Linked DNA regions of Homo sapiens: regions 2, 3 and 4 are each linked to region 1. Evidence: promoter capture Hi-C in 16 types of primary human blood cells and fetal thymus (Javierre and others, 2016). All regions are on one chromosome and are shown on one strand. The core of a region is centred on a gene start or on the middle of the fragment in contact, and the rest is flanking DNA. Distances in the headings are between cores, read along the strand shown. Region 1 holds the start of KDR (kinase insert domain receptor). Region 2 has its middle 53 kb from the start of LINC02260. Region 3 has its middle 85 kb from the start of EXOC1L. Region 4 has its middle 1.7 kb from the start of LINC02283.

Evidence for each region. The method cuts DNA at HindIII sites, captures the fragments that hold promoters and counts their contacts. A CHiCAGO score of 5 or more calls a contact.
Region 2: a contact is called between a fragment that was not itself captured here and the fragment with the promoter of KDR in region 1, in 1 of 17 cell types (neutrophils). The highest score is 7.9, in neutrophils.
Region 3: a contact is called between a fragment that was not itself captured here and the fragment with the promoter of KDR in region 1, in 1 of 17 cell types (M2 macrophages). The highest score is 5.3, in M2 macrophages.
Region 4: a contact is called between a fragment that was not itself captured here and the fragment with the promoter of KDR in region 1, in 1 of 17 cell types (neutrophils). The highest score is 5.6, in neutrophils.

The regions. Positions count from the first base shown.
Region 1 is chr4:55,124,184-55,126,883 of GRCh38, reverse strand. It overlaps KDR (kinase insert domain receptor), which reads left to right and starts at 1,289. Exons shown (of 30, transcript NM_002253.4): 1 at 1,289-1,657. The coding sequence starts at 1,591. The HindIII fragment of the contact is 11,417 bases long and covers 1-2,700 here.
Region 2 is chr4:54,552,758-54,555,457 of GRCh38, reverse strand. No RefSeq gene overlaps it. Among named protein-coding and RNA genes, the nearest start is that of LINC02260, 53 kb to the left of the region's middle. The HindIII fragment of the contact is 9,142 bases long and covers 1-2,700 here.
Region 3 is chr4:55,733,366-55,736,065 of GRCh38, reverse strand. No RefSeq gene overlaps it. Among named protein-coding and RNA genes, the nearest start is that of EXOC1L, 85 kb to the left of the region's middle. RefSeq lists a cis regulatory region at 1,839-2,204. The HindIII fragment of the contact is 3,160 bases long and covers 1-2,700 here.
Region 4 is chr4:54,329,804-54,332,503 of GRCh38, reverse strand. No RefSeq gene overlaps it. Among named protein-coding and RNA genes, the nearest start is that of LINC02283, 1.7 kb to the left of the region's middle. The HindIII fragment of the contact is 1,358 bases long and covers 628-1,985 here.

The DNA of each region.
Region 1 (2,700 bases), core at 40-2,539:
CCTTTTTGTGTTTTTCCAAAATTTTTTTTTGCCATATACATTCATTATATTTCAGCATTAAAATATTTCACCTGTCAACTTGGAAAAGTAAAAGCGTGAATACAGTAAATATTTAAAAACAGATGAAGATAAGTAACAGGTTACATTAATTGTATACAATCAATCTAGTTTGAATTAGGTGTAGATATAATAATTCTGTGTGTTTATCTTGGTGAAGAATGGTCCTTTAGGTTGTCATTAAAAAGCACCTCTGGGAGGTAAAAGACATAGGCATCTGGAAGATTCATATTTAATGAAGTTAGGGGACATTTGATGTCACTCCCCAGGTGTGGGGAGATATGGACAGAAAACCAGAAGGAACGAATGTGGTCAGGAAGGAATTGGAGTTCCCCTCCAAACAGCTGCCACAAGAAGTCCACACACGTGGAGACAGTTGTGCAATTTGGTCACAGAGTGTCCTAGGTGCTTTTGCTTCATTGCTCCTCCACTGAAGCACGCTGGCAGCTGGCCTCCTTCCCCTGGGACTAAGGATATCTTGGCTGGAAGCTCTGCTCTGAAAAGGGGCATGGCCAAACTTTCACTAGGGCTCTTCGTTGGGGAGCACGATGGACAAAAGCCTTCTTGGGGCTAGGCAGGTCACTTCAAACTTGGAGCCGCCAAATATTTTGGGAAATAGCGGGAATGTTGGCGAACTGGGCAAGTGCGTTTTCTGATTAAGAGCAACCAGATTCAGCTTTTTAAACTACAATTATACTGGCCAAACAAAATACCCTTATACAAAAACCAAAACTACTGGCAGGAGTCGCTGCCAGCTTGCGACCCGGCATACTTGGCTGAGTATCCGCTTCTCCCTTGTGGCTCCAAACTGCTGCAGATTCTCGGCCACTTCAGACGCGCGCGATGGCGAAGAGGGTCCTGCACTTTGACGCGCCTGGTGAGGGAGCGCTGCTCTTCGCAGCGCTCCTGGTGATGCTCCCCAAATTTCGGGGACCGGCAAGCGATTAAATCTTGGAGTTGCTCAGCGCCCGTTACCGAGTACTTTTTATTTACACCAGAAACAAAGTTGTTGCTCTGGGATGTTCTCTCCTGGGCGACTTGGGGCCCAGCGCAGTCCAGTTGTGTGGGGAAATGGGGAGATGTAAATGGGCTTGGGGAGCTGGAGATCGCCGCCGGGTACCCGGGTGAGGGGCGGGGCTGGCCGCACGGGAGAGCCCCTCCTCCGCTCCGGCCCCGCCCCGCATGGCCCCGCCTCCGCGCTCTAGAGTTTCGGCACCAGCTCCCACCCTGCACTGAGTCCCGGGACCCCGGGAGAGCGGTCAATGTGTGGTCGCTGCGTTTCCTCTGCCTGCGCCGGGCATCACTTGCGCGCCGCAGAAAGTCCGTCTGGCAGCCTGGATATCCTCTCCTACCGGCACCCGCAGACGCCCCTGCAGCCGCGGTCGGCGCCCGGGCTCCCTAGCCCTGTGCGCTCAACTGTCCTGCGCTGCGGGGTGCCGCGAGTTCCACCTCCGCGCCTCCTTCTCTAGACAGGCGCTGGGAGAAAGAACCGGCTCCCGAGTTCTGGGCATTTCGCCCGGCTCGAGGTGCAGGATGCAGAGCAAGGTGCTGCTGGCCGTCGCCCTGTGGCTCTGCGTGGAGACCCGGGCCGCCTCTGTGGGTAAGGAGCCCACTCTGGAGGAGGAAGGCAGACAGGTCGGGTGAGGGCGGAGAGGACCTGAAAGCCAGATCTAACTCGGAATCGTAGAGCTGGAGAGTTGGACAGGACTTGACATTTTGCGATCTTTCATTTACCAGTGGGGAAACTGAGGCTCAGAGACTGGCCCAAGATTACCCAGCGAGTCTGTGGTCGCCTGTGCTCTAGCCCAGTTCCTTTTCTAGGACTCTGGTTTGCGACAGGGACCTCGGCTGGAGCATGTCCTGAGATGCCGACACACCCTCAGGCTCTTGGGAGGCTGGGGTGGGAAGGCGCCTGGGGTTGGCAGGCAGGAGGTGCCTCCGCAGGCGAGAACAGGCGGTGAAAAGTTGTCTGGCTGCGCGCAACATCCTAGTCCGGGCCCGGGGAAGAAAACCTTGCCGGAATCTCAGGCCGGGTCTCCCGGATCGGACGGTACACTCGGTTCTGCCTCTTTGCGGGACCCGGCCCGTTGTTGTCTTCATGCTCGAACACACTTGCACACCACTGTGTGAAGTGGGGTCTGGAGCGGAGAGAAACTTTTTTTCCTTCCTTGGTGCAGGACGCCGCTCTCCTTGCAGAGCGAAGAAGGGGGGGAATAGGGACTTGTCCTGGGGGCTTTGACAGCTTCCCCAAGGGTCTCCAAGTAACAGCCAACTGTCCTGCGTAAAGCATTGCACATCTTTCAAAGCGCTGTGGTCCTTGGTGTAAGCGCATAGTCAGAAGTTCAAGCTCCGAAAACCTTTCCTGTGGGCCTTGGTACCTAGCTTTAGTGCCATTCCTTCCTCTCCCTGCCGCCTAAAATTTCCGTCTCCTTCAATTAGGAACACACACGTTCTTCATGCAATAGCTGTCTGTCTTTTCTTCCTCACTTTCCTTTCTCTCTCAACCCCTTAGATAATATTTCTTTCCTGCAGCCAGTTTGCTGATATCCAGATTTCCACCCTTTGCAGGGTGAGAAAGGGGAAAGGGTCAGAGAAAGAAAAAAAAAAAGTCGAATAATTCAGGGAAAAAAATTTCTTACTCCC
Region 2 (2,700 bases), core at 51-2,550, 570 kb after region 1:
TTTTCTATTTTTAATACTTTCTAGGTGACAATGAATTTCCTTTTTTCTGGTTTTTAGAAAGTTTTAATCCGATTACCAAAAAAATGCACATTGGAAATTAACAAATGTGTGACTAAGAAAAGTATATTTAATCCAACTATTGAGATAATCATCGTTACACATTCTTCTAGAACTTTCCTTGAAAATAAAAATAAATAAATGTATATTTCAGTATAATTTGGTACCCATTCTTCTAGGCCTTTTCTCTGAAAATACTTACACACAAAGACATATATATTTCATATATAATTTGGTATACACTCTTTTAGATTTTCCCCTTCATATTATACATTTACTTAATAGTAATGAGTGACTATATTATATATACTCTTGCAAACTTGCATTTTTTATCTAAATGCCTTAGAATGTCTTTCTCCACAGAACATGGATCTGTTTGAACACCTGAATGGCATTTCATTGTTAGTACCATCAGGCATCTATCAGATCGCATCATGACAGACATGGGGGATATTTCCAGATTTCTGCTTGTCCTCTGGACACTGCAGTGATTGTGGAGGCCACAGCATTGTGACACTTCTCTTGAGCCTCCCATTTCCTTGCCATTGCCCCAGCTCCCTGGAGCACCTGCTGAGTGGCTCTGGCGTGTGTTCCCTGGCCTTCTGGGCCTCCATACTCTCACCTCTCCAAGGAGGGTGGGAATTCTTGCCAACTTCTTCCCTCAGGGCTGTCGTGAGCACTAATGAGATCATATTTGCTGAGCACTTTGTGTTCCCTCAATAACTGGTGATACATAAATATGAATGTTTTCAGTTCCAACAGAGTCTTTGGATTCCTTTCAGGAAGAAGTGAGGGCCTATTTAAAATGTGTGTGTTGGTATAAATACTACAGCGAGTCCTTTGTATTCTACAAGATGCTGCCGAGAGTGGAAAGCTCGTCCCATTGCCAACATCAGGGGGTCAGGTGCAGGTTACTTCCTGCGTCCTGGTGGCCAAGTGGCCAGGGAAACAAGAGGTTGTGAGGTGAGGGCTGCACGTAAGGATGATATCAATCACCCGTGATTTTAGGCAGAAACATTCCTTTTCTGGCTTTCTAAGCTGTTTTCATGCTTATCTACTCAATAGCCAATCACCGAGTGTCTACAATGTGCCAGGGAAGAAGCCGAGTCAATCCAGCCAGGAGGGCACCGTTTCTACCTTCAGAGGCTTGCCATTTAATGTACAACCCAGATAGCATCTGTGGCCTCATGCCGTTTGAGAGAGAGGTAAGAGCAGGGTTCCAATTCCCAAATCCATGCCCCCAAAAGTCCGCAGGCCTCCAGATGTTGTGCAAGCCCATCATTGAGAATTTGTGTGGTTGGACCAGTGGTTAATGTTAGCCCCTACCTTTAGCTCCACAAGCCCCCATCGCCCCAATGTATTTGCGAGTTTGAACAGCTTAACTAAACATTGTGGAGGGGGGTGGTGGGAACAAAATTTACATCACAGAACAGCAAAAATCTTCAGATGATGACAACTAGCACTTAAATGGTGCTTACTTGCCCTATGACAAGCTCTGATGGAAGCCCTTGGCGTTGTTCACTTACACAACTCTCCTGATAATTCTACGAAGCAGATACTATCATTATCCCATTTTGAGAAAATATGGGACCATGTGAAACTAAATTTTCTCATCTTTAAAATAGCAATACTGAGGGCTCCTCTCCGTATCCCTTCAGCCCTCACCACTTCAGCACACGCTGGCCCAACTTCCCGCTGCCACCATAGCTTTGCCTGAGAGCTTTCTCTGCCCTTGTGTGGCAGGCAGGACCTGCTGGGGAATTACTGTCCCCTGGAAGTGACCCTCAACCAATGACAGATGGGAGTTGGCATACAATGGCCCCAGCTCCCTCACCCCTTGAGTGTGATAATTCAGAGGCATGATTCTACCTGTGTCCCCAGTTTCCCTGGAGGGCTTACACTCCAGCTTCCACGCTGGTAACTTGCTTAGAAACATACGCTTCTTGGCCACTTCCCTTTCCATCTGACTTTTCCATTCCCTATGCATATTTCCTGAAATCACCTCAGAAAGATCTACCCGCCCTCAAATGGTTATTTCGGGTCTGCTTCTGGCGAAAGAGACCCTAAAATGCTGATGCATGTGGCAAGGTCACACAGCTCTCTGGATTCAAATCCAGGGAGTCTTACTTTGCAGTCTACAATATTTCCCATTACATCACATGGTCTCTCAACTCCAAACTGAATGTGAAGCATGCCTCTTAAATGTATTCCTCACCGCAGAGGAATGTACAAGGCCCTCAATCCCTCTCTTCCAATAAATATTGTAACAGCTACCATTTTTCTAGTGACAGTTATTTGCCAGCCACATGCTAACTGTGTTACTTGAACAGCCTCATTCTAATATCACAACAAACCTGTAAGAGAGAAACGTTCTTATTCATCTCTGCTTTCTGGATGATATAACTGAGACCCAGAGAATTGAAGTGGTTTGCCCAAGGTCGCATGGAAACAGAGCCAGGATTTGCACACATATCTTTCTGGATCCACCCATATCCTCACCTAGTATACTACATACCATAGTGGAAAATGTGGTGCCAGGCACTTTATGGCCAATATGTTAGTTCCCTATTGCCGTTACAGCAAGTTACCACAAACCTAGTGCCTTAAACACTGCAAATATTTTATAGTTATCGGAAATCAGAT
Region 3 (2,700 bases), core at 90-2,589, 610 kb before region 1:
AATACAGCAATGGTATCTTTGGAGTCAGCTGGTCCTAAGTTCAAATTCTGACTGCCCCCCTTCTTAAGTGTGTTATTTTGGCAAAATTCATTTCTCTTTGAACTTCACTTTTCTCTCCTATATAATAAGGCTAATTCCTACTTTGCATGGTTGTTGTGGGAATTAAATAAGATCATATGCTTAAAGCACCTAGGTTAGTAGGCTGCCTATCAATTTCAGTACCTTTTCCTTTCCCTTCCTTACCTTATTCCTGTGCTCTAACTCAAAATTGTACCCCAGTGCCAGTAACAGGGATGCTGCTGCGTTCCCCTCAACTTTACGCCTACCTTGGTAATCTGCTTCCAAATCTTCCTGATGCTGACCACTGGCTGGATCTCTACCATCTTGTTACTTTCAGTTCCCTGTCGGCCCATGCACTGCTGGGATAACCACCTGATGTGTTTTTTTGTACCTCTTTGGGGCTAGTTGCCTGCCCACCTTCTTGAATGGCTATCCCTGACAACTGGGTATGTCCACCACTCCCCTTGACCTAACAAAATCCCCCTTCCTGCTGCTGGGTTAGCCATTCCCCAACCCCCAAATGTTACCCTGCCTCCAAATCACCGGGCCTGATGCTTCAGAAAAGAGCTGTTCAGCTGCACTGTGCATAGTATCTCTTTGCCACCTGCACATGTTCAGAAAGGCTGTGATTTTTTTCCAGCTTTTATTTTAGATTCAGAGGGTATATGTGTAGGTTTGTTGCAAAGGTGTATGGCATGATGCTGAGGTTTGGAGTATGGTTGAATGTGTTACCTAGGTGGTGAGCAGAGTATCCAATAGGTAGTTTTTCAACCATTGCCCCCCTTCCTCCCTCCCCACTCTTGTTGTCCCCAGTATCTATTGTTCCTATCTTTATGTTCATATATACCCAATGTTTAGCTCCCACTTATATGTGAGAACACATGGTATTTGGTTTTCCATTTCTGTGTTAGTTCATTTAGGATAATGGCCTCCAGTTGCATCTATGTTGCTGCAAATTATAAAATTTCATTCTTTTTTATGGCTGCATAATTTTCCATGGTGTATATGTGCCACATTTCCTTTAGTAAATCCACCAATGATGGGCATTAAGGTTGATTCCATGTCTTTGCTATTGTCTCTATATTTGTTGTTTTTTTGTTTTTCAAAAAGAGTATGATCTAAAAAGAGTGACTGACCGGGTCTTGCTCTGTTACCCAGGCTGGAGTTCTGTGGTGTGATCATAGCTTGCTGCACCTCAAGCTCCTGGGCGCAAGCAATACTCCTGCCTCGGCTTCTTAAGTAGCTGGGACTACATGCACATGCCACCATGCCCAGTTAATTTTATTTAAGTTATTTTTTGTAAAGAAAGGGTTTCACTATGTTTCCCAGACTGTTCTTGAACTCGTGGCCTCAAGGGATCCTTCTGCCTTGACCTCTAAAAACACTGGAATTACAGGTGTGAGCCACTGTGCCTGGCCTTGCTATTGTGAATAGCGCTGCAATGAATATACAGGTGCGGGTCTTTTTGGTAGAATGATTTATTTTCCTTTGGGTATATACTTGGTAATGGGATTGCTGGGTTGAATGGTCATTCAACTCTTCTTTGAGAAATCTCTAAACTGCTTTCCACAGTGGCTAAACTAATTTACATTCCACCAATATATTCACATTGAGTATAAGTGTTCCCTTTTCTCCACAGCCCTGCCAACATCTGTCATTTTTTGACTTTTGAACAAAAGCAGAAAGGCTGTGATTTTTAAAGTGGAGCTGGGAAGTGGTCTGTCTGTCCAGATAGAGACTGCTGGTCTCTGCTAGTACAGCTTGAAGATCAGCAAGCATGCCACCTGGGGCATTGCACCACCATAAAACCTGTTTCTTTCCAGGCAGGAGTCCACCTAAGGCAGCATTGCCACAGCTGTAATAGGAAGTCTGAAAGGTGAGGTGAGGTGTTCCAGGGGAGACCGAGTAAGAAGCTCTGTATTTGTGTGCATTTGGAGCAGGTAGTCCAGGCCAAAGGCCCCAACGCAGTGAGTCATATGAGGCTGTACAACTGGAAAGCTGCCAGCTGGGCACACCCATTAGGATACATGTTCCTGCAGTGGCTTAGCAGAACTTTCCTATTAATATTTATTTAAATACCAACTCTACAGTTTCTGGACATAACTTTATATACCATCTTTCTGAAACTGTTTTTATGCCAAAACGAGTCCTTTAGAAAGTCCATTTATCTGAATTACTTTTTATTCTTCAAACTTATACAGCCACAAATGCTTCTTCTGTTAGGAAGAATTGACTGTTTTGTTAACATTTAGCTTCATGTGGGTTTTACATTAAATTCTTAAAATCCAAGGCTATAAAATTCTGAGAGAATAAACGTATCTTAATAGAAACTTTGCAAATGCGCCACTTTATTAGTGATGGAAATGGTTATGAAAATCTGCTGCTTTTCATAGATAGTGCCAGTTACAGATAGAGAAATATTGTGGTAATCAGCATTTGATCAAGCTCTGGGTTCTGTGAAACTGATTCTTAATGCAAATTTTATCTCGAAAACTTTAGTCTGCTCTCCTAAAATAGCAATAGCCATTTTGAGCCATGGACTAAAATGCTTATGGTCCCAAGGATCCTAATATCATAGTTTGTAGGGAAGTCAGAATATGATGCTTCAACTTGCCAAAGCTGTTTCTTCTTAATCACCTC
Region 4 (2,700 bases), core at 57-2,556, 790 kb after region 1:
GAGGGCGCGGAAGCCTGCTGCATTTCCCAAGCTTGCGCGGACACAGGGAGGAACACCTTGAGGATCCAGCATCTAAGAAACATACTTTGGAAAATGCAGCTCCAGAATATTCTCTTTTGTGTCTGCTCAAGGACCGTATAGCATATTCTCCCAGATATTTCTAGGCCAAAGGAAGTCATTCCCTCCCCTTCCTTCTCATGCCTGGAAAATGGTAGAATTGAAGAGAAATCCATGGTTGGGCTGGAGGGCTCCCTGTACACAGAGGCTAGGGTGGGGGTGGGGGGCTTGGTGCAGAGAAGGGAGAGAAGGCAACGGACCCAATAAGAGACACCAATTATGGAGGACTTTTGCTGCTTCCAGCACTGGGCTTGCAAGGGAATTATTGAGTAACACCTGCAGTTGCAACCAAGACGGAGGTCAGCTCCTAAACAGAAGGCTCCACGACTCAGTTTCATGGTCACTTTCCTGACATGCAGTAGAAATCCCAGGCTTTTCCTGTTTCCTTTTCTTTGTGAATCCCTTCTCCAGTGTCTATGGGAGTGAGGCGGATGAAGTCACAAAGGCTCTGAGGTTCAGCCTTCTAGGATTACTTAGGCTGTTCAGGTCCCTCCACTTCCTCCCCAAGCTTCCTCCTCTAATTTCCTTAGGCCACTCCATTCTTCCATCCTCTAGTGCAATGGTTCCCAACCTTGGCTGCACATTAGAATCATCTGGAGGTTTTCTGTATGTGGTTGTTTTAATCTCAGTGGCCAAACCTCGTCTCAAATGGATGAAATCAGAAAGTCTAGGACTGAGACTCAGGCACCAGCATTTTTATGGCTTCCCAGGTTATTCCAATTTGCAACTTTAAAAACCGTCCAAGGGTAGAATTCTCTCATTTAGCAACATTGGTCTCCCAGGAAGCAGGTTCCTTTTCATCGGAAACCCAACTCATTCTTTTTTTAAGCCAAAACTCTTCCCTCTAGAGTACCCAAATTCTAATTTACTGGTGTCTCTCATTTATGACCAGATAATTTTCTGGAACCATCATGTTCTGTGCTCTAGGGGATCCAGCTTCACTTCAATTTCTCTGAGCATCTCCACAGTCCATTACTGAGTGTAGTTCAAAGGCAGAACACAGTGCCTACTTCCAACAGGCTAACTGCTAATGAGCATTGGCTCTCCATCATTCTTGCCAATTCTCATGTTCTTTTACTACCCCCAATTTCACCATCTTGGTGCCATTAACCCACATTTCTGCTAGGCTAGAAGTAACTCTCCCCACCCACTCCAGACACTCATCTCCTACCATTTCTCTTCTCAGAGAAGCCTAAGTCCGTAATATAACTCCCCTGCAAGGTTTCAGTCAGTGCTTAGAAGGCTGCAGTGGGCTTCTCTCTGGAATCTCGGGAGATGAACAAAAAATGTCACCTCAGCTAAAATTGAAACTAACGGAATCAATATAAAACAGATGAGGTAGCCCTTCTGCCCTCTTCTAAATAACCTCCCTTAAAAGATGGGCTTCTAAGGCTGGTACAAATGAAAGTAAACCCAACCAAAAGATCAGATGGTTAAAATAGAACTGTAGACCTGAGATGGATTTAATGCAAGAACAGCAACAACAACAAAATCCAAAACAGAGATCGTTAAATGGGGGGAACAAGACTATTTATTTACTTATTTATTTATTTATAGAAATATCCATCTTTAGTTGACTTTGGAAAAAATAAATATTTATAGAAATAAACTTTCATTGAACATATAAATTAATATACAAATAAATTTTAGTGCATGTATATAATTTATAAATAAATATATATGGGATTAGCACTCCCCAAAATGTTTTTGGAAATTACTGTTCTAAATAATTGTGTTCTAAAATTTCAGCATACATAAAAGGCTAGTGCTCAACTTGGAATGAGAAGAAGGAGATGGTGAAAATGGCAAGAGGTGGTCAGTGTTTATCCAGTACTATTGAGAAGCAGTGTCATGACCAGAAGAAAGCTTATCAGGCATATATGGAAGCATGTCCAACTGTTATGGCTTAAATGTCAATTCTTTAAAGTTATCCGGTCCCTTATGCCTGCACTGCAAGGCAATTATCTGATAGTAACCTGACATCTCCTGTACTCTTCCCTACAGGAAGGTCATATGTAAATCAGCCAACTCTGGCCTCCAGGTCTGTTTGGAAATATTATAAAATTATAAATTAGCTTCCTGGTTTCTAAGGTGGTTTGGGTTTAGGTTGGGGTTTCAGTTGAGTTTGATGTGAGTCAGGCCTCCTGAGCCTGATCACCTTTGAGGGAATGTCAGACCCTGAACCTCTCAGGTTCTGCCTGGATCACCATCATTACAAACCACTGCAAGGTACTCTCTAAGCCTCTGTCTTTGGCATTACCTCAAGTGTCACTCAACACATATATAATTTGATTTGTCTGAATTCCAGAGGGAACAGGGTTTCTTAGTCCACCTATGTTTTCAGAAAAGGGAAGTAGGTCTCATTGTTAGGAGCTTAGTAGTAAAACCTCAGATGCTAGGGGACACACAAAATGTAGTATAGGAGGAAACAATCCAAATGTTCATATCTGATAAATGGATAAACAAGATGTGCCATATTTATACAATGGAATATTATTTGTCCATAAAAAGGAATAAAGTTCTGATGGATGCTACAACATTGAAATATTATGCTAAGTGAAAGAATCCAGTCACAAAAGGCTG